Linked DNA regions of Homo sapiens: all the other regions are linked to region 5. The links are contacts of gene promoters, found by promoter capture Hi-C in blood cells and fetal thymus (Javierre and others, 2016). All regions are on one chromosome and are shown on one strand. Each heading gives the region's core, a stretch centred on a gene start or on the middle of the fragment in contact. The rest is flanking DNA. Distances are from core to core; before and after follow the strand shown.

Region 1 (3,936 bases), core at 539-3,038, 6.7 Mb after region 5:
GATAAGGGGGAACGATTATGATATCAGCTCACCTAGAGTGAGGAAGCTACAGCAAACATCAGTTTGTTCAGTTATAACAAAGAAGAGTAAGAGACAGGAATTAAACATTATAACATTATAACCTACCCAATGTTTACAATCTATTATTCCTTGCTTCCTAATAGTATTAGCAAGGAACACTTTAAAACAAAAAAAAAAGTCCTGTGCGCTTAACTCAGGAAGGAGTTAAGGGTAGCGAGCTAGGGAGACTGCAGCCAACCTGAGAGGAGGGTGAAGCTTTAAGATAAAAGAAAGTTGAGTTCCTGAAGCCTAAACCAGAAAAGGTTAGGCAGCACTGGCCTAGCCCTAAGGAAGAGCATTGGTGGAATAAATCAGCAAGCTGTATTTGGTTTATCAACTAAGAAAGCAAGTCCTTTCATCTCAGGTCCAGCACTTAAACTGTCATACCCAAACCATCTACTACAGCATTTACTACTGAAGGAGCTCCAATAGAACACAAGAGAATGTTTTCTTGGGTAGTGAGAGGAGGTAGGAGGTGCATTCTGAAATATTACCCAAATAAAAGTTTCTGGAAGACACCCTTTCCCTTCAATTTCTAGTTGACCTTGGTAAAAACTGTCGCGAACTATGAATAGAAACATGCACGGAGGAAGTAAGTGCACAATAAACATTTCATTTCAACACAGATGAAGCACCTAGTCATGCCACATTTATGGAGCGCCTACTGTGTGCTAAGTAGGCAAAGTGCTATATTGACCCCAGGGATACGCAGAAAAAAACACGGCGGGGCCTCAAAGAGCTGTCAAACACTTAACAGCCTGTGATTAGCCCTTCAGGAGGGGTCTCTAGCTTGGTCTGGAAAGTTAAACTTGAGATTCCTAGAATCTTGCAAAACTGATAGAAGCTCCCAGATCAAGTAGATAGCGAGACAGACTCTCCGGCCAAGTGCGCAGTGGCAGGCGCGGAAGTGCGAGCCGGCAGGACCGCCAGGCACCAGCCGCGCGGGCGTGGGCAGCACAGCCGCAGTTCCCTTCCACTGCAGGTCCCGAAGCCGCTGATATTCCAAACGAGGAAGTGTAAGGAAAGCACTATCCTCGGTCTAGCCGCAGGCGGCATCACCATCAGTCAGCCTCTATCCTAAAAGCTCTGGCCATTCAGCGGGAATCATCGCCTTCACTTCCTGCAGTAGGGTGGCTAAGTTTAGCAAACAAGAATGCAGGACGCCCGGTCAAATTAGAATTGTAACCAAACACCAGAAAACTGTTCCGTTTTTCCTATGTCCACTGCAGTATTTGGGACACACTTGGACTAAGAATCATTCGCTCTTTCAGAGAAATTCCAATTGATTGCGGCGTCTTGTATTTTATGTAGCAATTCACAGAGGGATGGCCTAAGTGAACATGAGTGAAGTATTTTCAACGCGAGAGTCACAGGCTCCTGAAGTCAGCACAGCCGCGGAGGGCACCCTTCCCTGCCCATCCCTCGAGCGCCTCTGCGTGTTATGACTCAGAGCCCACGCGCTAGTACGCCTCGCCCACCCGGCGCCGGGGCAAAGGGGCACCTCCGCCCACCGCTTTCTCCAGACCCCCGCAAGGCCTGCGCACCACGCCGCGGCACTCCTGCCCGCTGACCCCGTACCCAGAGGCCGCAGCTGCCGCAGCTCCCGCAGCTCCCGCCGCCCTGTCAAGCCAGCCTGCCGAGCCGCTCCTGCTCCAAACCAGCCGCGTCCCCGCCAGCGCCGCGCGGCGCCAAATCATGGTCAGAGCCCGGATCTGCAGCGAGCTCTACTGCCGGACACCGCGGATCCCGGGAGCCCGCCTCCTCCGGCCCGGCCCCCGCCTTGCCCCGCCCCGTCCCGCCCCTCCGGACTGCCCGCGCCGCCGCCGGTCACCTCCTCGCAGCTGAGCGCGTCCTCCCAGGGCTGCCCGAGCGCTGGATTCCAGCGAGTGCCACCCACGTGTAAACATCCTTTAGAGGGGAGAAGCGGCTCACTTGCTTATCTCGAGGGTTCATCCGAGCCCCGCCTCTGGATTCTTTTAGGTTTAGGGACGCTCATAAAGGCTCCCAGGCACTTGGAAGCAGTGCATGAGGATGGTGGCAGACATGCTGGGGAAACGGAGGAGAAAAAACATGACCATCCAAAACAGAATCAAAGTGGTGCCTCAGATGTTTCCAACTACCTGTTACACAAGTTTTTGTGTGGATGAAATAAGAGCCTAAATATATCCTCTTATAATTAGGCAATTGGTCGAGACCCAATGTAAATTATGGGGATATTGGGGTTTACATCCATAATTAAAAGAAAAAATCCGGTGTTGAAGGTTTACTCCAAAGAAGACAAAGATTATTTCCCACCACCTGCCAAAAAAAAAAAATTAGGAAACAAAACAAAAGAAATTAGCACAGAGATGTTTCACCATGGCTTTGGAAATGGGCGATTGCTGTTGACAGGATTATTTAAGCCACTCAGTGGTGGTAATAATAGCCTTTGTGCGTCACTATTTAAGGTTGGGGGTAAGCCTTTATTTACTGAGGACACTGAAATTCATCTTAAAGTCAAAGGTCAAATGGTACATCTAAAATTCTAAACAATTATTACAACAATCCAGAGCTTTTTTGATTCTTCATGTTCAACTAAGTGTAAAATTCATGTTACCAAAGTACAAAATAAGAACTTGTATTTCTGACAGTTCTTTTCCAACATTCAAATGGGCTATGTTTGATTACTTAATAAAAGGATGGAAGTTAGTTGCAAAAATAAATACCCCCAAAGGGTAGGAATTCATTCTTTTTAAAGACAAATTTGACTTTGAAAATTAAGGCATGTGGCCAGGCGCGATGGCCTGTCCTGTAATGTGGCCATTACAGGACTGCCCGCTGACCCCGTACCCAGAGGCCGCAGCTGCCGCAGCTCCCGCAGTGGCCAGTCCTGTAATCCCAGCACTTTAGGAAGCCGAGGCGGGCGGGTCACCTGAGGTTGGGGGTTCAAGACCAGCCCCTCCAATATTGGTGAAACGCCGTCTCTACTAAAAATACAAAATTAGCCGGGCGTGGTGGCGCATGCCCGTAATCCCAGCTACTCGGGAGGCTGAGGCAGGAGAATCGCTTGAATCCATGAGGCAGAGTTTGCAGTGAGCCAAGATCACACGATTGCACTCCAGCCTGGGCAACAAGAGCAAAACTCCGTCTCATAAAAAAATAAATAAATAAAATAAAATAAAAATTAAGGTATGTTATCTATCTATAGTGTTGTGGGCTTTTTAATTTTTTTATAAAACTATTTTGGAAATTTATGGTGTTATGTTAGTTTTGAAGTCAAATTTTACCTCATCTCAAATTGTTTTATGAAATAAAGATCATTATGAGGTGAACCGATCATGTTACAATTTAATTTTAATACAGCATAGATGGACTATTATCAAGCACAGAATTCACTGGACAGATTTTTTTAAGGATTTCAGAATGTAAAGTACTTCAGAAGAAAGTGTTATGCCTGAATTCAGCATAATATATTAATAAATATATTGATAATTTTCAACTTCTTTGTGCTTCGTGGGGTAGCTACAGAAGTGATTATTATTTTTGGTCATAGTTGTGATGACTGCAATAGCAAGTTAAGAAATATGTCAGCAGACAGTAGAACGGTGGTTGCCAGGGCCTGGGAGAAGGTGGAAATGGGGAGATGTTGGTCAAAGGGTACAGAGTTTCAATTATGCGAGATAGGTAAGTTCTAGAGAGCTAAAGTACAGCAATGTGACTATAGTTAGGAAAATCGCAATGTATGCTTGAAATTTGCTAAGAGGGTAGATCTTGTGTTCTCACACTTGCACACAAGAAAGAAAATGGGGCCAGGTGCGGTGGCTCACGCCTGTAATCCCAGCACTTTGGGAAGCTGAGATGGGTGGATCAACTGAGGTCAGGAGTTCAAGACCAGCC
Region 2 (4,062 bases), core at 1,173-3,672, 6.5 Mb before region 5:
CAAATGAGATAATGTGCAATACTGGCAACCACAGGGGCACAAAAGAAGTCCTCAAAAACCGTAAATAATTATTATTTGAACTATTAAAGGCAAAACCAGACAGCTTCATTTATATAATTAAAACCCCAGAAGACACCAATGTTTCAAAATTTGACTTTTTCCAAAAATGTCATTACATTTACATGATAGATACTCATGGTCAAGGGCTGAAGGAAAATCTCTAAAAATCAAACAATTTGATTTGTTGAGGTAGTGGAGTTATAGGTGAATTTTCTTCCCAGAAATTTCGATTACCAAAATTATGTGCACAGTTCATACCAGAGCCATGGCACCAAAAAAAAAAAAATCATGTGCCAGCTCCTTTAAATATTAGTAAAGAGGAAAACAGCCCACACAGTAACAAAATAGGAATTCAAACCCAGCTATGACTCCAGTCTATGCTCATTACCAATGTTAGGGACACGCTTCCTTATTCCCAAGTGCTTGATTTCTGTGCAAAATTTATGGTAATATATGATCGCCCTATGAATTCCTTCTTGTAGGACACAGTTTAATCCAGTAGTTCATATGATGTAGAAATATTAATGAAATTTTAACACAATCAAAATTCTAAATGGTAAATAAAACAGCCAATTCTTCATTCTTTAAATTTTTTTGGAAGTTGTCGAATCTCCAAGTTTATGGGCCTTCACAGTTGACTTAGTGAACAACCTCAAAGTGATAAAGCAGACAAGGCTTTTTGAAGCAAACATTCCTTCAGGAAATTCAAGTGGCACTTCAAAGAAGTGTGGACTTTCCTGGAATAGAATTTTGACTTCTGTGTTCCATGGAAATGAATGGAATACAGAAATTACTTCTTAGGCAAAAATAAGTTATATACAAGATACAATACATTATTAAAACACCCAATAATCCTCAAATAATTAGCTACATTCTGAAGTTAATTTATTTATAAATTATTGAAGCTCTCAAGCTAGCATTACCTCTACATTAGGAAAGAAACTAGATAAAATAGTTCTTAAATGAGTCACGCAAGGTTGCGTAACAAACCAGCAGAAAAACAGGTAATCAAGTTGTGGACTGCACGTTCAGCATAATAAACATTACTGAAGACAGGCACTCAGTTTTCATAACAAATGTTAGTTTTTCAAACTATTCTAATCCACACAAAGTCTTCCAAAAACATCTGTAGTTACTCTACCATGAAGTTCCTTTTTTTATTAAATGTTTCCACTGGCCTTTTATATCCTCATCTTGTGCTCAAAAAAAAAAGCTCAAAAAACATGGATAACTGCCACAGCTTAAAACAAAGAAAGGATCTCTCATACAGATCCAAAATAAAATGTGTTAAAACCTAAAGACAGGTAAAACAAAGCCAGTATGTTTAATCTATGTAACTCATTTCTGGATCTGTGTAACAGTATAAAGTCTGATAATTAAGCATTACTCATAAAGTAGAGAGTACTATGAAATTTGTTAAAAGAAGGAAAAGGCACAAACTTTTTCATCAGGTATTAAATACAATTGGGAGAATGGTACATATATAATATGTAAGCAAAATGGTAGGAGGTCTTACTAAAACTTCAACTTTGCCCTTTTTAGCACCAATTTTTTTTTTTTTTAAGTATTATCTTTTCAGGATTAAGATTATGAATGTCGAGAACCTAGGCATGTTGGGAATGGAGTAATCGCCGCCTACACTAGTAGGCAAATTTCCCACTCACATTTCGAACCCTAAAATAATTCGGCTTCTCACCTTAAAGTCTAAACCCAAAAATTTACTCACATCTTAACCCATTTAATATTTATAAGATTCAGTTTCTTTTTATCCCAAAACAAAAATATACCCCCAACCTACCTCGTTTACTGTTTGAGTGAGGCCAGGCGTGGTGGCTCACGCCTGTAATCCCAGCACTTTGGGAGGCTGAGGTGGGAGAATCGCTTGAAGCCAGGAGTTCGAGACCAACCTGGGCAATACAGTGAGACCCTGTCGCTATAAAAATAAAAAATAAAGTAATTAGTAGGGCATGGTGGTGCGGGCCTGTAGTTCCAGCTACTTGGGAGGCTGAGGCGGGAGGATCCCTTGAGCCCAGAAGTATGAGGCTGTGGTGAGCTATGATCACGCCACTGTACTCTAGCCTCGGTGACAGGGCAAGTACCTGTCTCAAAAACAATAAAAATAAAAATACCATTTGTGCGGTACGAAGGTGGGGGTGGGGAGGGACCGTTTCTGAAAGTCCTTTTCAAAAATTCAAGATATCAGTTTCAATACTAAAACATGGAAAAGCTGCATAGTCATTTTGTTTACTTACAAATTCTGGCGAAGTTTTAAATCGTAAAACTGTTAGTATCAGGAGAGCCCTTCGAGTATTCTCTCCGCTCCACACCGCTCGGCTGCACCCAGCGGCCGCCGCGGCCCGAATGTCGTCCAGGGTCCCCGCCCATATGACAAACACTTTCCGCCGGAAGGCGCCCGTGGAATCCTGGGACTAGTAGTCTCCGTGCCCTGCCTTCTGCCTTCTCCATCCTTCACCCTCTACTGCCAGGTCGTCTGACCCAGCGACAGGCGCGGTAAATGCGCGACCAAACCGCAGAGGTCCCATGCAATCTCATGCTGACAGGATTACAGGCATCTCTGTAAGACGTCGACCACCCTGACCTGAAATTCATAGACTGAAGAAACTCATAGGACCAACACAGTGAGCAGCAGTACCAAATGATAATGGCAAGCACCATGTCCTGGAACACACCCTCTGTGCCATTAAGAGGAGCATGTAATCCAATGAGTTGCCTAATCTAAACCTCAGTTTGCTCGTGTGTCAAATGGGGACAACGTTACTTACCTCATAAGTTTGTTATTAGTAGATTAGATGACGTATGCAGCATTTCTGTTAAATGACAGTAGTGACAAAAAATAGCTGTTTTGATCTACTAATTTTATAAATGTGAAAATTAAGAGATGGCGAGCAATTTACCCAAGAACATACAATTTGTTGGGGGAAAAATGAAGTAAGTCTAAAATTCCTGTTCTTGACCTACAGCAATTCAGGACAAATCTAACCAAATTTCAAGAAGAAATCTATTCATGTAAAACTCCCTTCCCCTTTCCTCTTTTTTTTCCCATAACAGTCCTGACCAACACACTATTTTACTTATTTTGATTTTTGCCCGACTCCTCCCATAGAATATAATCTCCAAGAAGGCAGGAAACATTTTTTGTCTTTTAGTCTATTTTGTTCACTGCTGTATCCCCAGCACAGAGAACAGGGACTGCCTACTACACAGTAGCTCAAGTATTTATTGAATTAATAATTCCTCATTTAATGTGATTTTTGGTGCCTTCACTTCTCAATCACCCTCTCTTGGCAGAAGTGACAGGATTTGGTAACACTCTTGGATGGTGTTTAATAATTAACTGCAAGTCCTAATTCAACAAAAAGAATACTATATTCCATTCACTTTATTGTGTTTAATTAATTTCAGTATAACATTTCCAGGAATTTTCATTTGTATTGTCATTAAAATATTTTTCTATCATTTGTAAGACTGGGGAATAAATGGAGCCAGCTACTATGTCTTTAATTAACTTCCTCCTGTTTAATATTTTAATCATCTTTTCCTTATTAAAATTGTTTGCCTACTTCATTTGTACTACTAAGTCACAACGGATAGATTTATCTCTTTAAATAAATGAACTTCTGCTTACCCTAAAGCAAAAAGTTCCTGTACAAAAAATTTATTGTTCTAAAATGTTTCATTTAAAATAATTATTTTGGCCAGGCGTGGTGGCTCACACCTGTAATCCCAGCACTTTGGAAGGCCAAGGCGGATGGATCACCTGAGGTCAGGAGTTCAAGACCAGCCTTGCCAACATGGCAAAATCCATGTCTACTAAAAATACAAAAATTAGCTGGGCATGGTGGCAGGCACCTGTAATCCCAGCTACTCGGGAGGCTGAGGCAGGAGGATCACTTGAACCTGGAGTTGGGGGAGGCTGCAGTAAGCCGAGATTGCACCACTGCACTCCAGCCTAGGCGAAAGAGCGAGACTCCGTCTCTAAAT
Region 3 (4,111 bases), core at 543-3,042, 6.7 Mb after region 5:
AGGAAAAAAATGATCTACAAATTTCAATGCTTTAACTGTTAAAAGCAACAACTTACTAATGACTTATCTTACCACTTTTTAAAATTCATTAACCTAAAAAACATAATTTCTCTGAAAAGAGAGACTTTAATCATTATTTGAGTATGAAATAAAATTAAGTATCGTTTGAAGGGACTATAGTCGAGCCTCCTAATCATGAAATCTTGGCTTCCTTGAGCTTATCTTTCCATTCATTACTTCAACATTTATTAGAAGCCTCTATCCATGTATTAACTCGATATTTACTAGGAGCTTCCATCAATTTATTGAATTCATCCATTTATTACTAATATGTACCAAATAATGTTAGACAGTAGGATATGAGGACACAGATCTATGGTGTTTCAGTTTTGTGGATGCAGGCAAATAAACTATAAAGGGAAGTAATATGGTACTGAGTGCTCTGACACAGGTATGAATAGAGAATGTGGGGATAGGTAATTGTAGCCATTTCTTTATAATGTGTGTGCTTGGGGTGAGATTCAGGAGAATACTACGGGGTGAAAACATTGGTGGAACAGAAAAAAATTTCACAAACTAACAGTTGCAGAATGGCTACAGATCATATCGGAAATGAACCACACACTTCTGTATCTGTAGTCCTCTGCGTTGTGAAAAGATTGACTTTTTTCAAAACAGGTCAAGGAATTTGGTTATGTCAAACACAAAGTTGCCTCTTTTTTCCTTCTGACATGGTAAAAGAAAAAAAACAATCCCATAGGATGTGTTTGGTTGGCCATAGTATATTGAACTTATCTTAACCGTCTCAAAACGCATGTCAAGGACACCACTGAGACTTCTGAGTACCATTTAAAAAATTGGGTAGTCTGGAAGTGTTCTAAATTGGACCGTTTGGGGTTTCTGTTAGGGCAACTTTCCCATTTACATCTTGGAACACAGCCTTTTGAATATAGCCCTTCGGGATTGGCGGGGAGAAGGGACCGCGATGGAAAAAGTCATCATCCAAAGAATGAAGAGGGAGGATCCAACATTTAGGATATTTTATTGACTTGCTAGGCGCGTTTACCTTATCTTCGTATTAACCCCATTTTCTTCATTAACCAATTGATGCTGTGAGAAGCTATGTAACTTGACGAGCAGTGCCCAGAACTGTTTTTTTTTTTTTCTGGACTCGGTCTTTTCCACTCAAAACCAACAAAAAACCAAAACTCGTTCTTTTCCACATCAAAAGCAAACAAAAAACCCCAACCCCAACCCCAAGAGCCCCACTCTTTCAAAAGGGCTTCTCCGGATCACTAAGTCCTAGAGGTCTTTGGCTAGGCCTGGGTCCGATCTAAATAGGAAGGTAATTCTAGTGTTCCGCAAATCCTTGCCGAATTCCATCCCGGCCAAAGCAGGGACCCGGGGGAGCCTCTGGTCGCACCCGAGACAGTTCGTTAAATACTCAGTGCACGTGCTGGGGATGGAAGTGCTGACCCACTGCTCAGGTACGCGCGCACCTGACGCCGCTTGGTGCGCGCCGCGGGGTACTGGGTACGTGCTCCGCGCGCGCGCGCCCGGCAAAGTTCCCCGTACGTGCGCCGTACGTGGGCGCGGTGCCCCAGCGCTCAGCGTTTCAGCGAGTGAGTGGGCTCCGTGCCCAGCTGAAGTCTGGGAGGGGCACTTTTCCAGGCGGTCGCGGCTCCCCCTGGCGGCGGATGTGCCTCGCTGGAGGGGCGCAGTCAGGCGTTCTCCGCGGGCAGCCGGCGGCGGGGCCTTGCCTTACAGCGCGGGGTCCTCGGCGGCCTGGGTGGCTACTGCCCCTGCTGCTGTCGTAGGCGAGGACGGCTGTTAGTGCTGCTGCTGTTGGTTCGTCGCGGCGGCGAAGGAGGAGGAGGAAGAGGGCGAGGCGACAAGAGAAGAAGGAGGCAGGCGCGGCGGCAGCGGCGGCGCCCCGAGCCGGCGGAGGCGAGGGGGGGGAAGATGGCGGACGTGCTTAGCGTCCTGCGACAGTACAACATCCAGAAGAAGGAGATTGTGGTGAAGGGAGACGAAGTGATCTTCGGGGAGTTCTCCTGGCCCAAGAATGTGAAGACCAACTATGTTGTTTGGGGGTAAGTCCGGCATGGCTGTGGCCCAGGGGTGGCAGGGCAGAGTTGGGCGCCCCCAGGCGACCTCTTTCTTAACCCCTCCCCCCGTTTCCCCTGGGGATGGGATAAAACGGGTGTTCGGGGAAAAGAAAGTTTCTCTCTAGAGCAGAAGTTGCACTTTTAGGGTAAGGAAAGAAGGGGCGGAGCTCTAGAGCAGTTCATCACTTAAAATTTTTGAGAAGCCCAAAGGAAAGGTACCGTGGGAGTTTCTGACTTTTACAGTTAATTTTTATCAGTAGGTATGTGTACCAGCGAAGTGTGGGACTGGTGCGCAAGGGATACCTGAACATAGGTGCACAAAGGAGCACACCGTCTGGTGCCGTAGACGCCTCTTTTTGTTCTTTATTTTTTTTTTCTCTTTTCCAGGCTGCTATGTAACTATCTCCGCTGGTCTTTGCAACTCCTGGTTTATTTCATCTCCTTTCATTGTTGGGGTGGGGGTGATTCCTGTAGAAGAGAAAAGGGAATCAACCCTGAAGTTAGGACCGGAAAGAAATTTGGTGAATTTGGAAGAGTCATAAAAGTCTGTGTTAGAGAGGTCTTCAGGAGTTGGTGAAATGAGTGAGCTTTACAGATCTAAGAAATAGATGGTGCGTGTGATTTTTCGGAAGTGTATTTTAAAGGGAAATGTTTGGGAATGTTGGTCCATGTGAAGTTTTATCAGTTTAAGTCATTCAGGAAAACTTCTAGAGACGGCTCTAACAGTCATTAGGGGCCTTTTTAATGATGTCACTGTCATTGGTGCATCGCTTCTAGAATTAGAACCTTGAGCTACAACTTCCCTACTCATTTTGTTTCTTTGAATGGAAGCTTTATGAAGAGTCGATGAAAAACTAGGGAAATTTAGTTTGTTGGTTGGTATTTATTTATTTATTTTTGAGAGGGAGTCTTGCTCTGTCGCCCAGGCTGGAGTGCAGTGGCGCGATCTTGGCTCACTGCAATCTTTGCCTCCTGGGTTCAAGTGATTCTCTTGCCTCAGCCTCCTGAGTAGCTGAGGTTGCAGGCCCCCGCCACCATGGCCGGCTAATTTATGTAGTTTAGTAGAGATGTGGTTTCACCGTGTTGGTCAGGCTGGTCTCGAACTCCTGACCTCAAATAATCTGCCCGCCTCCACTTCCCAAAGTGCTTGGATTACAGGCGTGAGCCACGGCGCCCTGCCTATTGGTTGGTTTTAAAATTTTTTTGTCTTATGATTTAATTAGCTTTATAAAATGTTGATCAAATGACATTCTGAGTTTCTGGTATTTTACCCTTTCGAATAATTTGCATAGGTAGAATTACATGTGGTTGGATTTTTAGTGAATTTTTTTTTTTTTAGACAATGGCTAAGGAGTACCTAGGGTGTGAAGTGGTTCAATCTGAGGATTAAAAAAATTCCTAAGACTCTGGTTTCTACCTCAAAGGAGGTTAACTTAGTCTGAATAGAGGAGATTAAACAGATAAGTTGATGTGAAATGCTTTCTATAAGTTGATGTGAAATGCTTTCTACAATAGCTTTTGAAGACAGCAGTCACTTCTAGTTGGGGTTATTTAGGAGAAGGTTCCATAGAATTGTCTTTGGCAAGTTCACATCCAACAAAGTTTTCTTGAATGAATGAATGAATGAACAAACAAGCTTTAAAGAATAGGTAGGAATTCTCTGGGCTAAATGATGGGTTAAGTCTTCCAAGATGAGTGAACTGTATACTTAAAGGCTGTATGCTTAAAGGCATAAAGAACTGGAAAGTAAATGTGTTGACAGCAATCCAGTGAAGCCAGTGAAAAAGGAGTGCTTATCACAGTAGATTTTAAACTTTTTCAGCAGTTTATCACACCAAGAAATTGTTTTTATTTTCTATATGTGCACATGCACATGGAAATATATACACATATAAAACACTAAACAATACTTACTCTTCTTATTGTATGCAGTGCATTTTATTTTTCTGTTCTTTTCTATTCTGAAAATAGAAAAAATATGGTTGTTAACTATTTATTGGGTT
Region 4 (4,106 bases), core at 1,280-3,779, 6.7 Mb after region 5:
TTTTCTCTTTGAAGCATCTGATGGTGACATAAACTACCACCATTTAATTGTTTGCAGGTTCTTCTGCTAATGAAGCCAATTTATTAATAGCTGCTGATTTTTCATATGTGCATGTACAGAAGATGAATTTATATATCATTCTTTCATGCATGATCTCCAAGTTTTCTGCACATATGAAATTGAAGGAGTAAAAACAAACTTACCTAGTACAACATTTCTGAAAGTTAACTTTAACATATTGTTAAGGTTTTGAACGTAAAATATATGACTAAATCTGCAGACATGTCAAACTCAGTGTCTGTCCAAATCTGAATCCATTTTCTTGTCCATCAAGCCTGCTCTTCACTTGTAAGAGTGTTTCACCAGCCACCCAGGCTAGAAACCAGGGAGTTATTTTTGCCTCTTTTTTTCCCCAACTTTTAGTAAGCAGTCCTTTTGATTTTTTTTCTCTTATGTAGGAGTAATATACTACCACTCAACCTCTACTGTAAGGTTGGCAGCCCTGAGAACTCCTTTTTTAATTTAGCGTGTTATGGATGTATTTCTGCTCCCAAAGGAATGAAGAGCAGACATTACCACATGCAACTGTTGATTTAAATATAGCAAACTTATTGAATCTAACTCCTCCTTCCTAACCCACTAGTTTAGCCAATCATCTCGGACTCCAACCATTTTAAGAGATGTCTAGCTTCTCTCACTTTATTCCAACCTGCCCTGCACACTTAAAAGCACAATAAACCTTAATTATGAAAATAATGTCATTTCAGCATTAAAATATATTTGATAGGTAAATCCCCAGTCACTACAGGGCAATTCAAACTATACAACATGGCATACAATCTGTCCTCAGTTTATCTTTTCAGTTTCAGATCCAAATAAATATTCCTCCAGTCTGCTATATTATGTTCTAGTCACTTTGCTAGCTGTTGGCTAACCCATATACTTTAACATCACTACTGTTTATGCTTTTCCTTCTGGCTGTGCTCCTCCATGACCTGTGTACTTTTAACATTTTGTATATACTCTAACATAGCAATTAACACACCATATTATAGTTTGACTGTCAATTATTCGAAACAGCAGTTATGGTTTATTCACATGAAAATTTCCCAATCCTTGGGTGGGCGCGTGGCTCACGCCTGTAATCCCAACACTTTGGGAGGCCGAGGCGGGTGGATCACGAGGTCAGGAGCTGAGACCAGCCTGGCCAGCATGGTGAAACCCTGTCTCTACTAAAAAAAAAAAAATTAGCCGGGCATGGTGGCGCGTGCCTGTAATCCCAGCTACTCGGGAGGCTGAAGTAGGAGATTCGCTTGACCCCGAGAGATGGAGGTTGCAGTGGGCCAAGATCGCGCCACTGCACTCCAGCCTGGGCGACAGAGCGAGACTCTGTCTCAAACAAAAAAAAGAAAATTTCCCAATCCTTACCACTGTGCCTGAGATATAGAAGATGAACAACATATGCTTGATAAATGACATTCCAAATATTAAGCTGTGTACAACAGGCAATATCTACATCAACGTTTAATTGTTAATCCCGCGTAAAAGTTTTAACATCGTAGAGTCAATAACACTTGGGAAATAGATAAAAACGTACTGTCCAAAGAAGAGACTAAGAACAAGATAAATAGGGAAGGATAAAAAGTAAAATGTGTTGATTATTTAGGACGAAAGGCACTAAATACAGCCAGAGAGAAACTGTGAGGAAAGCATGTGGCCTCTAGTCTAGAACACTAGCTCAAGAAAACTCACTTCACCGGAAGCCAGAAATGAGCAGAGAGCGGAACCAGTGAAGTGGCCTTTCAGGCCCACGCAGTCAGCGTGTGTGGACGTCCCGAAGAGCTATTCACACATTCAAGGCGTTCTGCTTTGAATAACCAGAATCTCGAGTTCCTGGGCGGCTTGAGCCGCAGACACCTCACCCTTGAGAAGGCGCACCCTAGGGTGGCTTCTGCAGGACTAATGGCCTGAGCAATGCACTTGACCTCACCAGCCCGGGATAAGGTGCGCGCCGCAGAGAAGGGGCAGTGCAAAGGGCAATACGTGCTTAAGAGCTTGGGGAGCGAGGGCCCTCAAGTCAATTACAGGATTTGGGTGCCAGGTCCTGAGGATGCAGCAGGCACAAGACTGACACGATCCTTGCCCTCGTGGTGTGGCTCTACAAATTACTGTGGAAACGCGACTGTCTCGAGCTGAGGAGAGGGCAGAACATCTACATTTCCCCCACCCGGACTCCAGGTTCCTGAAGTCACCTCTCCAGACGCGGGGCGGCGGTGGCCGCAGGGAACCACTCCATGCCCAGCTTGGGCCTCCTCCCGTGACCCCAGGCCCAGGACGGTCCCCTTGGTTCTCACCGAATCCTTTAATGAGCTCGGTGAAGACCCCGGGGTCGCTTTCCATGAGGCACCACTCCCCGGCATTGCCCGTCATGGCCCTGGCCACACACCGCCCCGATCCACCTCTCGCTCTCAGCTGCCCCCCGCACCAGCTGCCGCCGGCCACAGATCTCAGCAAACCCGCCGCCGAGCTCGTCAACCACACGTCACCCCGCCTACTTCCCGACAGCCTCCGGGCGCCGTCACCTGCAGCGCGACTGAGCGCGGGAGGACGCTCTAGCCACCCTAGAGACATCGAAACTCTTCCCAGGCCTTGCAGCACCCGTAGCGGATTCGGAAGGGCTGGGGCCTGAGAAGAAAGGGCGGTGATTCACAGCGCCGAGGAGGCAACATCCGGGATCCTCGCCCCTCTGGGGCGGAGGCGGGGCAAAAGAAGAGGGGCAGGACTCGTTCCCGGGAACCGAACCTGGAATCCCCGGCGGCAGTGGGGCTGTTGCTGTTGCTGTGGCTGTCGCTGCCCGTCAGGCTGCCTTCTTTTGTCGTTTCCCAGCGCTGCGCAGGACTTCTCCTGGCGGCGCTGCGGATCCAGGGGGTCGGCTGCCAGGTACAGGTGAGGACATTGCGGGAGGCCGGCTGGGAGCCTTTTGTGCGGCCCCAGGGACGCGCAAATTCTGACCAGTCCTCCATGTCTCTCACCCGCATCCCAGGGGTTGAGGCTGGGCAAACGCCGCGAAACTATCGCTCTTCCCCGTCCCGCTTCCGCGCCTGTCCACCCTGGGTAACGGAACCAGCATCGCGGTAGGGACATCCTCGCTAGGCCCGGCCGGACCATTCCTCAGGGTGGGCCCTTTCCGAAGCCGGGACCGCTCCTGCTTGTCGGCATCGCTCCCCACAGGCCGACGTCGAGAGGGCCTGCTTTACTCCTCCTCTTTCTCCTCCTTCTCCCGCGGCTTCTGCGCGGAGAGGCGTCGCCCGGGATCTGGGTTTTGGAAGAAGGATCTTTGTGGGAAGACAGGGTGAATTTATCACAGAGGAATAACGAGGGAGAGGAGAAAGGTTTGTCCATGGGGCTGCTAGACTAGTGGAAGGGGATGCGGTGCGTCAAGGGAAAATTAGGTTGAAAACAAATGTCGTGTATTAATCTAAAAACATTTGGAATGGTTCTAAAACTGGATGATGAGTTAAACCAAATATTTACTAAATATTTACTAAATTGCCCTCATTCAGCAGGCTCTTATAGAATACTATAGTGTTAAGATTAAAGTTTTTAAGAGTATATTGAAGTCGTTAAGTGTATATTTACTCCTTAAAAGCTACATATTCCAAGAAAGACCTTTGGCTTCCAGAAAAAAAAAATGTTTTAGTGGGTAAAACTCTGACTCCTTCCTTCTCAAATAGGTGACTTGTGCCCTGGAGTTAGGGAGCCTTGTGCTACAGATTATGTGAAGCCATGAAATAAACGTGGTAAATTTTATTGAGGGAAGCAACAGAGCAGCTTTTGTATTAAAAGGAGCCTGAGTACGCTATGGGGTAGAAGCCAAAATTTGTATGAAGTGTTGGTTTAAAAAAAATTTTTTTTGTAACTTTCTTGAAGTTTATCTCCGGAAACTCTGCCCTCAACTTGGAGACTAGGAGGATTCTGTACAGTATATTTCCTTGAGATACTTTATTGGAAAAGTTTAAGAGGCACAGAGTCCAGAATGATTGGCATCAGAGCCCAAAGTAGTTTGTGGTATTTTTTTTAATCTGTAATATTGCTATGAACTTGAA
Region 5 (3,858 bases), core at 1,328-3,827:
AAGCTAAGCAGGGTGGGGCCTGGTCAGAACTTGGATGGGAAAAGCAAAGCACAAGACATATCATCCTCCTAAGAAATGTCAGGATCTTTAACATCTTGTGAACTTTCTAAAACTTAATGATGTAAGAAAAGTAAGAAAGAGATTAGCTATCAATCTTTTATAGGAATTAGGCCTTAAAGGGGAAATATCCTGAGATTCATAGATATTTATAAAAATTATTAAAAAATGGAGTTAAAACATAAATATAATGAAATCAATAGGCTTCGATTCTTCAACATAAAAACAAGCCACTCTCTACTTCTTTAGTTGCATAATGCTTTCACCTTTTTAAAAAGATTTCAAGAACTCTTATCTCATTTGATTTACAAAGCTGTCTAGGTAGACAGACATGTGGGTCTAACCATTTTATAAACAATAATCAGATACTGTTAAGATTTACATGTGGCAAAAGCAATTTTAATAGCAAAATCAGAATAAGAATCCAGACCTCCTGACCATTAAATTCTGTGTTCTCACAAAATCTTTACCACTAAGTGAAAAATCAAAATATCACCATAATAAAAACCAATGATGCTTAATCAATATTTTCATGTTTAGTAAGCAAATGTTTCCAAAGTATATAAAGGAGTCTCTGAAGATTTCGATACTCCGAGAATACTTACAAAGATGAATTAAATACTTACTGAGTTTCTCTAGCTCAAGCCGCAAGCTTTGACACTCTCGGGTTTCATTCACAAGTCTCTCCTGACTGTGGGACAACCTCTTTTCTATTTCAAAATACTGTTGTTCTACAGCAGACAAGCAAAAAACAAAAAACAAAATCAAACACATGTACATACATTGTGAATACTGTTATTTATTTCTAATAACCTTGATTTTAAAACTTAAGATACAGTATTAGAATTGTGCTCCACATAAGAGAATCTGAGTAAAGATAAATAGACTGAGCACTGAAAAGGACTTAAAGCATTTCCAAACGACTTACATGACAAAAAATAAAAAATAAAAATAAGGCCTAAAAGGGGCTTTACAAATCAATGTCTTCAAGGCAGGTAACCTCATTTATCTTAGTATTTTCTCCAGACATCAGTAAACTGCTTAATAAATAAAGTATTTATTACACGAGAAAAAATTGTTTAGACAAAAAAAAACTCCTTTGTTTTAAAAGACTTCTTTTATAGTAGTCAAGATATTACCTGAAAGCATAAAACTACTAAATATATGTAAAAGTAAATGTGTAAACTTTCCAAGGGAAGGGATTGAATATCATGTTCAGCATAGTATCAGGAACATGTAAGACATTCAATATTTATGGTGCAAATTAATAAATAGAATGCAATGTACTATACTCAGCTCTGGGATCAGAGAACTAATTTTCAAGGTCAATTCTGCTTGACAGTTACACTTTTTTTGAAGTAAAAACTTGTTCAGAATTTCCAGTCAACTTAGCAAGAACAGTATGAACCTCCCCAAACAAATGGTAAACCAAAACACATTAACGGGAAGTTTGTATTTTACTAATGGTAATGACTATATTCTTCATATTTTTTTCAAGGATGTTCAAGCCATTATTGTCAGTAACTTTCTTACTTAAAGGCCTACTTTAGGTAATTACAAGAAAATTTTAATGTTTTCTATCAAACTCCAACTTTTTAAGAGAAATCAAGATATATTAAATTTATGTACTGCACATTCACTGTGTTTCCAGCGCTCTTATGCACCTAATATTCATTTTTGTAAACATCTGATTCGTTCTGGAGCCACGGGACGACGCACACACTAAGAACAAGTGCACAGAGTGGTCAATTTGGCAAAGGCCTAGAATGCAGGTGCCTAGAAAATAGGGCGGAGCCACTATCAGTTGAAGTGCAACAAAACATATAAGGTACTCTAGGCTTAGAGAGATGGGTTCGCAGACTCTATCAAGTCTGTTTCCCGTCTGCCGGACGAAGGAAAATAAGCGTCCCTGTATGAGCCTACCCTAACTACAAAGAAAATGCTACTGAACTTAGATTCAGATTTTTTTTTCAAAGGCTTCTTATCAAACTGTAAGGAGCAGGAAAGCGAAGGCTCAGGATATCCACAGAGCCCAGGAAGTGAGGTTAACAGAGCGGTACCCAGTGCCAACTTGATGGGGGAAGACCAGACCCAAAGGGCGGGAGTCGAGCCCAAAACCAAGGACGGAAAGAGCATCTCACTTACCGCTCTCCACCTTAAATTTCTCATGCCGCCCCTTCAGGCCATCGATCTCGGATTGCTGATCAGCAAGGAACTTTTCAAGTTTGTTCTGGACAGACTTGGGCAGCTTGTTCAGCTCCGTGCGCTCCAGGACTTGCTGCAACACCGCCGCCATGTCGGTGGGGCCAGGGACCCCAGTGGCAGCGGCCGACGGGGTAGAAGCGGAGAAGAAAGGCGAAGACCAGCAGGACCCAGACGCCTGGGCCGCCGCCTCTATCACCTCGCTCGGTGGCTCGCGCGCGCCCGCCCGCCGGAGACTCCCGCGGCGGGACCCTGGGAAATCGAGTCCACCCTCAGCGGCAGCGTTTCAGCAACAGCACCTCACCGCCCGCGACCGAAGTGCGCGCGCAGCCGTTGGAAGCTACGAACCCTGGGAACCCGAGCTCAGAGGCTATCCCTGATCCTCTTGCGCACCCAATTTTCCGGCTTCCAGCTCCACCCACTTCAGGCCTTGTAGGGCTCTGGGAAATGTAGTGTTTTTCTCATTCTTTTCCGGGAGCCCAATGCTGCACCGCCCTCTCAGCTTCCGTTTTTCTCCCCGCTCCCCTGGCTCTCCTATCTCGGCCCCGTAACCGCTGTCCGCACGGTGGCGCCACATACGTACTCGTCACCCCTTGGCCCTCCCTGAAGAGCTGGTGACCTTACCGTCAAAGCCCCGGGATGCCATGGATCGTCCTCGTTGGCGGCTTCTGGACACTGAGCCACTAGAGGGCATCGGTCCCGGTAGGGCCGGACGGCAGGCTCCGGGATACCGCCACGCTCTCTATGGCGCCCAGAAGGGGGCGGGGTGGCGACCGCAGTCGCTTTGGCTGAGGCTCTGCGGGGAAGGGAGGGGGGGCTTTTACGTCATCAATCTGCGCCACCTGACTCCCAAGTCCCTGGCTTTGGAGTGGGAAGTGAGGTGTGGGAAGTAGGTCGCTTTCTGATGAATTCAGTGGCAGTGAATTGAGACCGGAGGGAATCTGGCCCCTAGAGGCTGGTACTTGGGCCCGAAACCCCCATCTCCGGCGGAGAGACCGTCCGAGGTAATTGTCTGCCACGAGTGCACATTCTGAAAACAGGTAAGTCAGCCTAAGTGTAGTGTGTGTGTGTGTGTGTGTGTGTGTGTGCTCTCTTTTCAAGAGAAAAAGGAAGGGACAGTGTTGGAACCATATGGACAGTCACTCCGGCACACACTTCTGACGAACTTACCTTGTGTGAAACGGCGTACCTAAATGGTTTTTGGTGGTGGGGAGGTGGCACTGAGTGATTCAGTACCCGGGAATTTAAGGACCCGGGTTAATTCTTCAGGAGGAGAATTAAAAGAAACCGGTAGCACTTTGAGTGTAGCCTATGTTTTAAATTTTTCGTTGCAGAAACGGTTACCTAACATTATATTGTTTTTAAAATTGAAAACTGTTGTAACTGAAGTTTTTAAACACATTGTTAATTTCTACAGTAACAGAACTTGTATGGTTCCAGATCATAATTCTGTAGTTTTAAAGCTCAATCCGTAGATTGTTTCGTGTTTACTCTTATGAAAGAATTTGTTAAATTATTCATTGTAAATAATGCATTCCCAGTGTCGTCTCTCTGCAGTTCCCACAGTCGTGGGCCTTCTGTGAATTGGTGATTTAGTTC
Region 6 (4,080 bases), core at 100-2,599, 7.3 Mb before region 5:
CAAGAATTATGTATTCTCCGGCCAGAAAACGACCTCCAAACCTCCAAACCTTTTCAACTACACGCAGCAAAAAGCTAATACAATGCCTTCTGCATTTGACTGTACGTCTCCTGCAGTGATTAATGCTGCCTCCCTAACTACATTGTCCGGAGCAAGTGTCAAGCCCAATTATTTCTCTAGGATCTCCTGATAGTAAATGCTCAGCAAATATACAGACGAATAACACCTAATCATACACAATAATCTTAGAGTACTTTCCCCATACATTTCCTAACTTAATCCTTACAACAACCCTGTGAAGTTATTAACTCCCATTTTCCAGTTAAGGAAACTGATGCTCAGCAAAGTTAACTGGCACATCCAGTATCATACAGCCAGTAAGAAAGAATTCTGTTCAGTACGCCTTACTGATTAAATGAACTATGTGGCCTGAAGAAAAAGTGTCAGCTCAGTCTTTCCCCATCACGCATCTTATTCCATGGAGTAACCTGCATTATATTTCAGGGTCAGGCACACTAAGTTTGCGCTTTAGTATATGGTGAATAAATGGATGGACACAGTGGCGGCTCTGTATAAGTCAGCTGAAAGCAAACAAAGGGAAGGCAGAATCTTTCATTCACACGATTTATCCGCGCCCACTGGGTGCACTACGGTCGGGCATTGGCGACCCAGGAGCGACTGACCTGCCCTCATGGGGCTTACGGTCCTTAGCAAAAAACAGATGTAAAACAACTAATATTACAGTAAATGAATCATAATTTTGTGAGATGCTCCTGAAAGTATGTAGCAGGACGCTCCGCTCTGGTCCGAATGAAGAGCCATTTGCACTCAGTGTGGAAAGGCTAGCCTTTTTCTGGGCAAAAGAAGCGGGGGATACATTTAGATAGGCAGAAGTTCCGAGCAGAAGTCAAGGCAAATTAAAAAGGCAACAGGAGGAGGGAAAATGCTTCTCACAAACAGAACTCGACCTAGGGGACCGCAACTCTCCAGTCCTGCTGCTTGGCTGCCTACCTACCTAAGAAAAGCAGGAAAGAAAAAGAGAAGACGGGGTGGGGGATGGAGGACAAATACAGAAAAAGAAAAAAGAGCGAAGGAAGTGAGAAGTGAGAGGCCAGTTTATGTAAGCGGGCAGGGCGGCGCGGCCGGCAGGAGACCGGCGCCGGCGCCGAGGGAGTTAAGCGGACGGGCCCGGTATGGAAGAGGTTAAGGGGGGCAGTCCGGAGCGGGTCCGGTAGGGGCCGCCTACTGGGCGGGGGCGGGGCCGCGCCGAGCGAGCGCTGGGATTGGCCGTCGGGCAGGCGCTACGCTAGGACGGTACCAACAGCCGGGGGCCTCGGAGGCGGGGGGGTGGGTGTGGGACTGCCGCTCTGCGCGGCGAGAGGTGGCCTGGGAATGGCCGGGCCGGGGGTGGGCCGGAGCCGCTGTGGCGGCGGCGGCGGCTGGGGGCGGTGAGCGCGGCGTGGGGCTGCCCCTCCCCGGAGGCGGCGGGGGCGGCCGGGGCCGCGCCGCACCGCACCGCGCGGGCGGCCATGGAGCGAGCCTAGGGCCCGACAGGTGAGTGGCGCGGGGGCGGGGGAGGGCGCGCGACCCCCGCCCCCGGCGCGGCGGGCGGGAAAATGCGGACCGGCACGCGGGCGGGGCACGGTACGTAGCGCGCGCCGGGCTGGGGCCGCCTGGGGGCGGGGCGCCTCCCTGAGGGGCCGGGCACCGGGTGCCCTGAGCCGTCCCCGAGTGGCTGCGGGCGGGTCCCGGGCGAGGGCCCGAGGCTTCCTGGGAGACCCGCTCGGGCCGCGTGTCCCTGTGTGCGGTCGCGGCTGAAGGGACGCGGCCTCGGCCGCCACGTCCCTGGCCCACCTGAGGCGCGGGCCCACCTGGGGCCGCCTCAGGCTGCCAGAGGTCCTTCTAGTGACCGTCTCTCGTCCCCTTGCGCGGTCCCCAGAGGCGATTGGCCCCGGTGCCTCTCTTGTGTTCCCCGGAGCGCCCGTTGAGGCAGCCCAGGGAGCGCGCCCTCGCGGGGTCTTTGCTGGGCCCGCCTCGTGGCCGGGAAGCGCGAGTGACCTGCAGGCCGGAGGCGGAAGGCGGGGCAACCGTGCCCGGGGCCCGCGGTCTCCTGGGGTCCTGCGCCGGGCGCTCGCAGAAGGGCACAACTTAACGAATGCTGTGTTAGCCCTCAGTGGGCTGCGCTTGAGATTTCATTTCCGGGTGTGACGGCCCCGCGATTAAGAGCGGACCGATACGTTTCCCTTAATGATGAATGTGAATAGTTGTCGAGCTGCGTCCTTGATTGTGGGTTCTGATAAGAGATTCATTCTAATCTGACTTCTGTTAACCTGCCAGTCTCCGGATAAGAAGAGAAGGGGTAGAAGGATGGATTGGAGGGAAAGTAGGGGTAACAGGGCTTGGTTAGTCTTAATGGAATTATTAGTCCTTTTAAAGACCATACCATCATTGGGATGGATAAGGAGTTTCTAATTTGGGAAAATGAGAGTTGCTTGCTATTGCGACTTGGGTCTAGTGCCAGATATCAGCATCTTCCCCACCCAGCCAGCTTCCCTCTGGAGGTTTGATTTCTCACTTGGAAGGGAAGTAGGAATGTGGGGTTTTTTTTAGCCTTTAGCCTTTAAACTGTAGGACTTTATAAATCTATAATCTGGTACAAATTACTATTGCCATTTATTAGCCACGCCTATGTTTTTTGCGTTGTAAATTCTTGCAAAAATTTCACTGGCGTTGATTTCTAAAAATCTGGTTAGAGATCTCAGTGTTCTTATGTATTACAAACATTCCTTGAGTTTATGCAGGATCTTTGAGCTAAGCTTAGAGCACTTCCTCAAATATGATTCGTTATCACGACTGTCTGAGAAACTGAGGTACAAATGGTAAAGATGCTAAATTATTTGCCCAGACTCATAGCCAATCTCAGGGAGATTTAAAATCAATGTATTCTATTAATAACTTTTCTAAAGTTTGCAAAGATGTTGGACTTTGGCCTCTCGAACCGTACAATGGAATCAGTCAGCAGGAGTCCCTTTCCCATTTGAAATTACTTATCAAAGGAGAATACAAAGGCACACACAAGTATAATTCAGACTCTCAGCCTCACTCATGATAAAGTGCAGTGATAAATATGGATACAGGTAAAAGATGATCAAGACATCTTGGAGTTCACAGCGTTTCTTTTCTGTGTGGTGAAAATGTGACATTGGTATGCTCTATTCGTTTCTCTAGAACTGGTAGGACAGTAGCTATGTTTTGGTGAATGAATGGAAACTAGAAAACACATACACTGCTTTTCTTTTTGGTTCTTAAGATTAGAGAAAAAACACATCACTGCTTCTATCATCTTTATTTTTATAATCTTTTATATCATGGAAGTATTTTATGTTAAATTGATAATTCCTTGACTTTTAGTTCATTCCCTTGATTTCCATTTGTAGATTCCAGCCCTTTCACACAGCCTTAAAGTTTCTGCTTCTTATCTCTTCTGAATTTTAAATTCCTAAATGAAACTTTCTGTTCCTTCAGTTTTAGGGCAGACTTCAGCTTCCCACACTTTGTGTGTCTATCATTTCATTGGTGTAAAACCCTAAAATCATTTCATTAGTGTAAAACCCTAAAGCCAGATACTTCAGCTGTTGAATTGATAACTTTTTAAAATAGCTAACCACAGAGGTTGTCTTTTGGTGATTGCCACAATCTCATAACAGAAGCAGGAGGGCGTTCTTTGTATTCTGTAAGAATACATAAAAAGACAGTTGGTCGGGCGCGGTGGCTTATGCCTGTAATCCCAGCACTTTGGGAGGCCGAGGCAGGCGGATCACGAGGTCAAGAGATTGAGACCATCCTGGCCAACATGGTGAAACCCCGTCTCTACTAAAAATACAAAAATTAGCTGTGCATGGTGGTGCACGCCTGTAGTCCCAGCTACTCAGGAGGCTGAGGCAGGAGAATCGCTTGAACCCAGGAGGCAGAGGTTGCAGTGAGCTGAGATTGCACCACTGCACTCCAGACTGCTGACAGTGAGACTCCGTCTCAAAAAACAAACAAACAAACAACAACAACAACAGAAGGAGACTGTCT
Region 7 (3,938 bases), core at 154-2,653, 7.0 Mb before region 5:
CAGGCTGGAGTGCGGTGGCGCCATCTCGGCTCACCGCAACCCTTTCCTCCCCGGTTCAAGCGAATCTCCTGCTTCAACCTCCTGAGTAGCTGGGATTACAGGCGCGCGCCACCTCTCTTGGCTAATTTTTGTGTTTTTAGTAGAGACGGGGTTTCACCATGTTGGTCAGGCTGGTCTCGAACTCCTGACCTCGTGATCCACCCGCCTCGGCCTAAGAAAGTGCTGGGATTACAGGCGTGAGCCACCGGCCGCTGATGGTATTCTTTCCTGAGGGCAGATTTTCACGCCAGAAGCCCCGACAATTATACCTGAGCTGGTTCCACCTAAGCTCAATCCTCCTTCCCTGCCCCAAGGGGGTGAAAAATCTGGGCCCAGGAGGCCTTCCTTGTGCTCTGGGGGGAGGCATTTAAGGGTCCAAGGAAGACGTGACCGAAATGTAAAGCACTGGACGGCTTACCCAATAAGGGACCCAGCGTTTCTTATTACCCAACATCCCCCTGAGTCTGGCTTTTAGAAAAATATGCAAAGCGTCCGGGCGCAGTGGCTCACGCCTATGATCCCAGCACTTTGGAAGGCCGAGGCGGGCGCGGTCAGGAGTTTGAGACCAGCCTGGCCAATATGGTGAAACCCCGTCTCTACTAAAAATACAAAAATTAGCCGGGCATGGTGGCCCCCGCCTGTAGTCCCTCGGGAGGCTGAGGCAGGAGAATCGCTTGAACCTGGGAGGCGGAGGTGGCAGTGAGCTGAGATCGCACCATTGCACTCCAGCCAGCGCGACAGAACGAGACTCCGTCTCAAACAAAACAAAACAAAAAACAAACTACAAAATTAGCCGGGCATGGTGGCGTCTGCCTGTAGTCCCAGCTGCTTGGGAGGCTGAGGCAGGAGAATTGCTTGAACCCAGGAGGTGGAGGTTGCAGTGAGCCGAGATCGCACCATTAAACTCCAGCCTGGGCGACAAGAGGGAAATTCCGTCTCAGGGGAAAAAAAGAGAAAGAAAGAAAAAGAGGAAGAAAGAGAAAGAAAAATATGCAAAGCAACAAAAAAGAGAGCTAGAAAGATGGAAACAACTCAGAAGACCCTTGCTTAACCCGCGTGCGTCACGGGCTACAGGGGTCGGCCCCTCGAGCTAACCCCCACCGGCGCCTGCGCACTGGCCTGGCCCGCGGCAGGAAGCCCCGGCGTGAGACACTTTCGGATTCCGTGACAACGGCGGGATTAAACGTTTTTCTTCTCCTTTGCTACTGAACCTATGCTGTGACTTAGAACATAAGAAACTCCAAGAGGGTGTAGGGATTGTCTTAGCTGTCTCCCTCCTCCGCCGGCACCGCTGAAGGCAGCCCCTATGGAGGGCGCTAAACCTCGGGGCCCTGGGTTTCTATGACGACAAACAGGCGTTCCAGCAAAGGAGGAAGTGAGCGGATGCTGGGCGGGTACGCAATGTGTGGGTAGGATCGCGGGTGTCCCTTTCCCGTCATTTTAAACCAAGAAGCAGTGCGAGGCCTGCCCAACTCGCGAGTTTGTGGAACTGGCGCGCGAGAGCGCTGCCTGTGGGGAAGGTATGGTCCCCAGCCGAGCCGCCTGCAGCGAGTGTCCCCCACCAGGGGTGCCGGCGGTCTGCGGGGTCCGCCGAGCGGGTCCTTCCTGCCCTGCTCCTTGACCCCGACCTGACGGTCCACTAAGGCTTCTTAGTCGCTACACATAACCCCAGAACATAGAGGTCGCCCCGAAGAAGGAGAACCATGCTAGATGAATTCTAAACTGCGATCTGAACCTAAGTACTCAATAGTTGTCATCTTTTTTTTTTTTTTTAAATCTTTTTTCCTCTGCCTGCAGGACTATGTGGCAGCCTGCAAGTCCCAGTGCGGCGCTGATTTGTGTCTAAATTAGCTTTCCGGAGGACTATTTCAAATTACTAAAGAGATAGGAGGCATTGTTTATTATGTCTCTCCCGAAAACGCCCTCCACCCCGCTAAACTCTACATCAACATCTGAGAGCAAAAAGTTAAAAGTGTCTGTAGCCAAGGAAGGGACAAGAGGTAAACTTCGTTGATTCTGAAGTCATAAACAGTCATGGCCGTAAGACAGAAATCACCTTCCATTCACCGGTTTTTTAAATCTGATATTCAGAATACCTTGATTGGCTACATTTTTCTAACACACTTGCTTAAATAAAGCAAGAAGTCATTCCTTTTACAGTATTTTGAGTCAGAGTACTGTTTCACTACTCCATCTAAATACAGTTTATACTTTTTTTCAAATGTTGATTTATATATGATTTTAAATTCAACCTATTTTAAATATCAATAGTTACGTATTTTTTGGTTCCTGGTCTTTGGCTTTAAGGAACTTTGGAAAAAGTAATAGTGAGGCAGGGCGCGGTGGCTCACGCCTGTAATCCCAGCACTTTGGGAGGCCGAGGTGGGCGGATCACTTGAGGTCAGGAGTTCGAGACCAGCCTGGCCAAATATGATGAAATCCCGTCTCTACTAGAAATACAAAAATTAGCCGGGCATGGTGGCTCGCGCCTGTAGTCCCAGCTTACTCTGGAGGCTGAGGCAAGAGAATCGCTTGAACCCAGGAGGTGAGGTTGCAGTGAGCCAGGATCGAGCCATTGCATTCCAGTCTGGGAGACAAGAGCAAGACCCCATCTCAAAATAAATAAATAAATAGGCCGGGCACAGTGGCTCACACCTGTAATCCCATTTGGGAGGCTGAGGCTGGCGGATCACGAGGTCAAGAGATTGAGACCATTCTGGCCAACATGGAGAAACTCTGTCTACTAAAAATACAAAAATTAGGGGGGGCGTGGTGGCTCGTGCCTGTAGTCCCAGCTACTCAGGAGGCTGAGGCAGGAGAATCGCTTGAACCCGGGAGGTGGAGGTTGCAGTGAGCCGAGATTGCGCCACTGCACTCCAGCCTGGCGACAGAACGAGACTCCGTCTCAAATCACGAGGTCAGGAGTTTGAGACCAGCCTGACCAACGTGGTGAAACCCGGTCTCTACTAAAAATACAAAATTTAGCCTGGTGTGGTGGCACTCGCCTGTAATCCCAGCTACTCGGCAGGCTGAGGCAGGAGAATCACTTGAACCCGGGAGGCAGAGGTTGCAGTGAGCCAAGATCTTGCCACTGCACTCTAGCCTGGGCAACAGAGGTAGACTTGGTCTCAAATAAGTAAATAAAGAAACAAAAAGTAATAGCAGAGATAAGAGAAACTCAATTTAGTACAATGTGCCAATTTGTATTAGCTTTTAGTAATTTTTCTAAATGAGAGCAATTCCTTAAGATTTTCGTTCATATGCGGATCTGTACTAGAGTCAGCTAGTGTTATCCTTACCCGGTTCTGTTAAAGCTTTTCCCATCTCACCTGCACCTTGTACTAAAACCCCAAGCCCCACCCAACTTTTTTTTTTTTCTTCTGTTTCTTTTGATCTCAAGCTCTCAGGAGATTTGGTAATGTAAACCCTAACAACTTTTGATAGTAATCAAAGCATGATACCTCCTTATAGAAATAAACATAAACCATACCATGTTACAGGCATAGATTAAGAAGAATAACAACTCAACCCTACCTGACTGACTTCATAGGAGGGCTTTTCCTACATTATCCCAACTACCTGCCTTTATTACTCCCCTGCCCTAGTCAAGCAGGGTAGAACACTCTTTTTACAGTTCCCATTCCACAGATTTGTCAGCTCAGATTGTTCCACTCTCATTTGCAACAATCCCAGTTCCATCTTTACTTTTAAGCCCAACCCAGAGCCTTTCCACTCTATAAATGCCTCGATTTAATGCAATTATTCTCACCTTTGAATTCATGTAAGAAAAAAATTACTAAATAATTTGACAGCTTGGGGGGAGAGATTTGTGATTTTCATATGAAAGGGAAAATAGACATTCATTCCTGTCTTCTTAAGGCTCTCCCAGTTACCTGAGC

Evidence for each region. The method cuts DNA at HindIII sites, captures the fragments that hold promoters and counts their contacts. A CHiCAGO score of 5 or more calls a contact.
Region 1: the fragment with the promoter of GLRX2 here is called in contact with the fragment with the promoter of TPR in region 5 in 1 of 17 cell types (M2 macrophages); the score reaches 14.3 in M2 macrophages.
Region 2: the fragment with the promoter of TOR1AIP2 here is called in contact with the fragment with the promoter of TPR in region 5 in 7 of 17 cell types (total CD4 T cells, monocytes, naive CD4 T cells and 4 more); the score reaches 20.1 in total CD4 T cells.
Region 3: a contact is called between the fragment with the promoter of CDC73 here and the fragment with the promoter of TPR in region 5, in 5 of 17 cell types (M2 macrophages, naive B cells, non-activated CD4 T cells and 2 more). The highest score is 14.7, in M2 macrophages.
Region 4: the fragment with the promoter of UCHL5 here is called in contact with the fragment with the promoter of TPR in region 5 in 12 of 17 cell types (total B cells, naive B cells, M2 macrophages and 9 more); the score reaches 22.6 in total B cells.
Region 6: the fragment with the promoter of FAM20B here is called in contact with the fragment with the promoter of TPR in region 5 in 2 of 17 cell types (total CD4 T cells and activated CD4 T cells); the score reaches 7.0 in total CD4 T cells.
Region 7: a contact is called between the fragment with the promoter of AXDND1 here and the fragment with the promoter of TPR in region 5, in 2 of 17 cell types (naive CD8 T cells and total CD8 T cells). The highest score is 8.5, in naive CD8 T cells.

The regions. Positions count from the first base shown.
Region 1 is chr1:193,103,626-193,107,561 of GRCh38, forward strand. It overlaps GLRX2 (glutaredoxin 2), which reads right to left and starts at 1,789. Exons shown (of 4, transcript NM_197962.3): 1 at 1,639-1,789. The coding sequence starts at 1,757. RefSeq lists silencers at 1,578-1,677, 1,654-1,948, 1,728-1,967. The HindIII fragment of the contact is 5,966 bases long and covers 275-3,936 here.
Region 2 is chr1:179,875,381-179,879,442 of GRCh38, forward strand. TOR1AIP2 (torsin 1A interacting protein 2) reads right to left here and starts at 2,423. Exons shown (of 7, transcript NM_001199260.2): 1 at 2,313-2,423; 2 at 1,859-1,993. RefSeq lists an enhancer at 2,398-2,757. The HindIII fragment of the contact is 9,006 bases long and covers 1-4,062 here.
Region 3 is chr1:193,120,239-193,124,349 of GRCh38, forward strand. CDC73 (cell division cycle 73) reads left to right here and starts at 1,793. Exons shown (of 17, transcript NM_024529.5): 1 at 1,793-2,093. The coding sequence starts at 1,963. RefSeq lists enhancers at 1,290-1,936, 1,841-1,910, 1,937-2,581, 2,181-2,230 and a silencer at 1,601-1,680. The HindIII fragment of the contact is 13,310 bases long and covers 1-2,937 here.
Region 4 is chr1:193,056,831-193,060,936 of GRCh38, forward strand. UCHL5 (ubiquitin C-terminal hydrolase L5) reads right to left here and starts at 2,530. Exons shown (of 11, transcript NM_001199261.3): 1 at 2,355-2,530. The coding sequence starts at 2,430. RO60 (Ro60, Y RNA binding protein) reads left to right here and starts at 2,782. Exons shown (of 9, transcript NM_001173524.2): 1 at 2,782-2,946. It also overlaps SCARNA18B. RefSeq lists enhancers at 1,882-2,191, 2,216-2,948, 2,352-2,881, 2,949-3,681. The HindIII fragment of the contact is 5,498 bases long and covers 1-4,106 here.
Region 5 is chr1:186,372,676-186,376,533 of GRCh38, forward strand. TPR (translocated promoter region, nuclear basket protein) reads right to left here and starts at 2,578. Exons shown (of 51, transcript NM_003292.3): 1 at 2,203-2,578; 2 at 684-788. The coding sequence starts at 2,353. It overlaps ODR4 (odr-4 GPCR localization factor homolog), which reads left to right and starts at 3,163. Exons shown (of 14, transcript NM_017847.6): 1 at 3,163-3,299. RefSeq lists a silencer at 1,713-1,762 and enhancers at 2,323-2,622, 2,783-2,832, 3,003-3,192. The HindIII fragment of the contact is 6,872 bases long and covers 708-3,858 here.
Region 6 is chr1:179,024,545-179,028,624 of GRCh38, forward strand. It overlaps FAM20B (FAM20B glycosaminoglycan xylosylkinase), which reads left to right and starts at 1,350. Exons shown (of 8, transcript NM_014864.4): 1 at 1,350-1,554. RefSeq lists silencers at 1,167-1,356, 1,397-2,136. The HindIII fragment of the contact is 5,476 bases long and covers 1-2,814 here.
Region 7 is chr1:179,364,568-179,368,505 of GRCh38, forward strand. AXDND1 (axonemal dynein light chain domain containing 1) reads left to right here and starts at 1,404. Exons shown (of 26, transcript NM_144696.6): 1 at 1,404-1,433; 2 at 1,837-2,039. The coding sequence starts at 1,943. RefSeq lists enhancers at 955-1,354, 1,735-1,804. The HindIII fragment of the contact is 9,843 bases long and covers 1-3,351 here.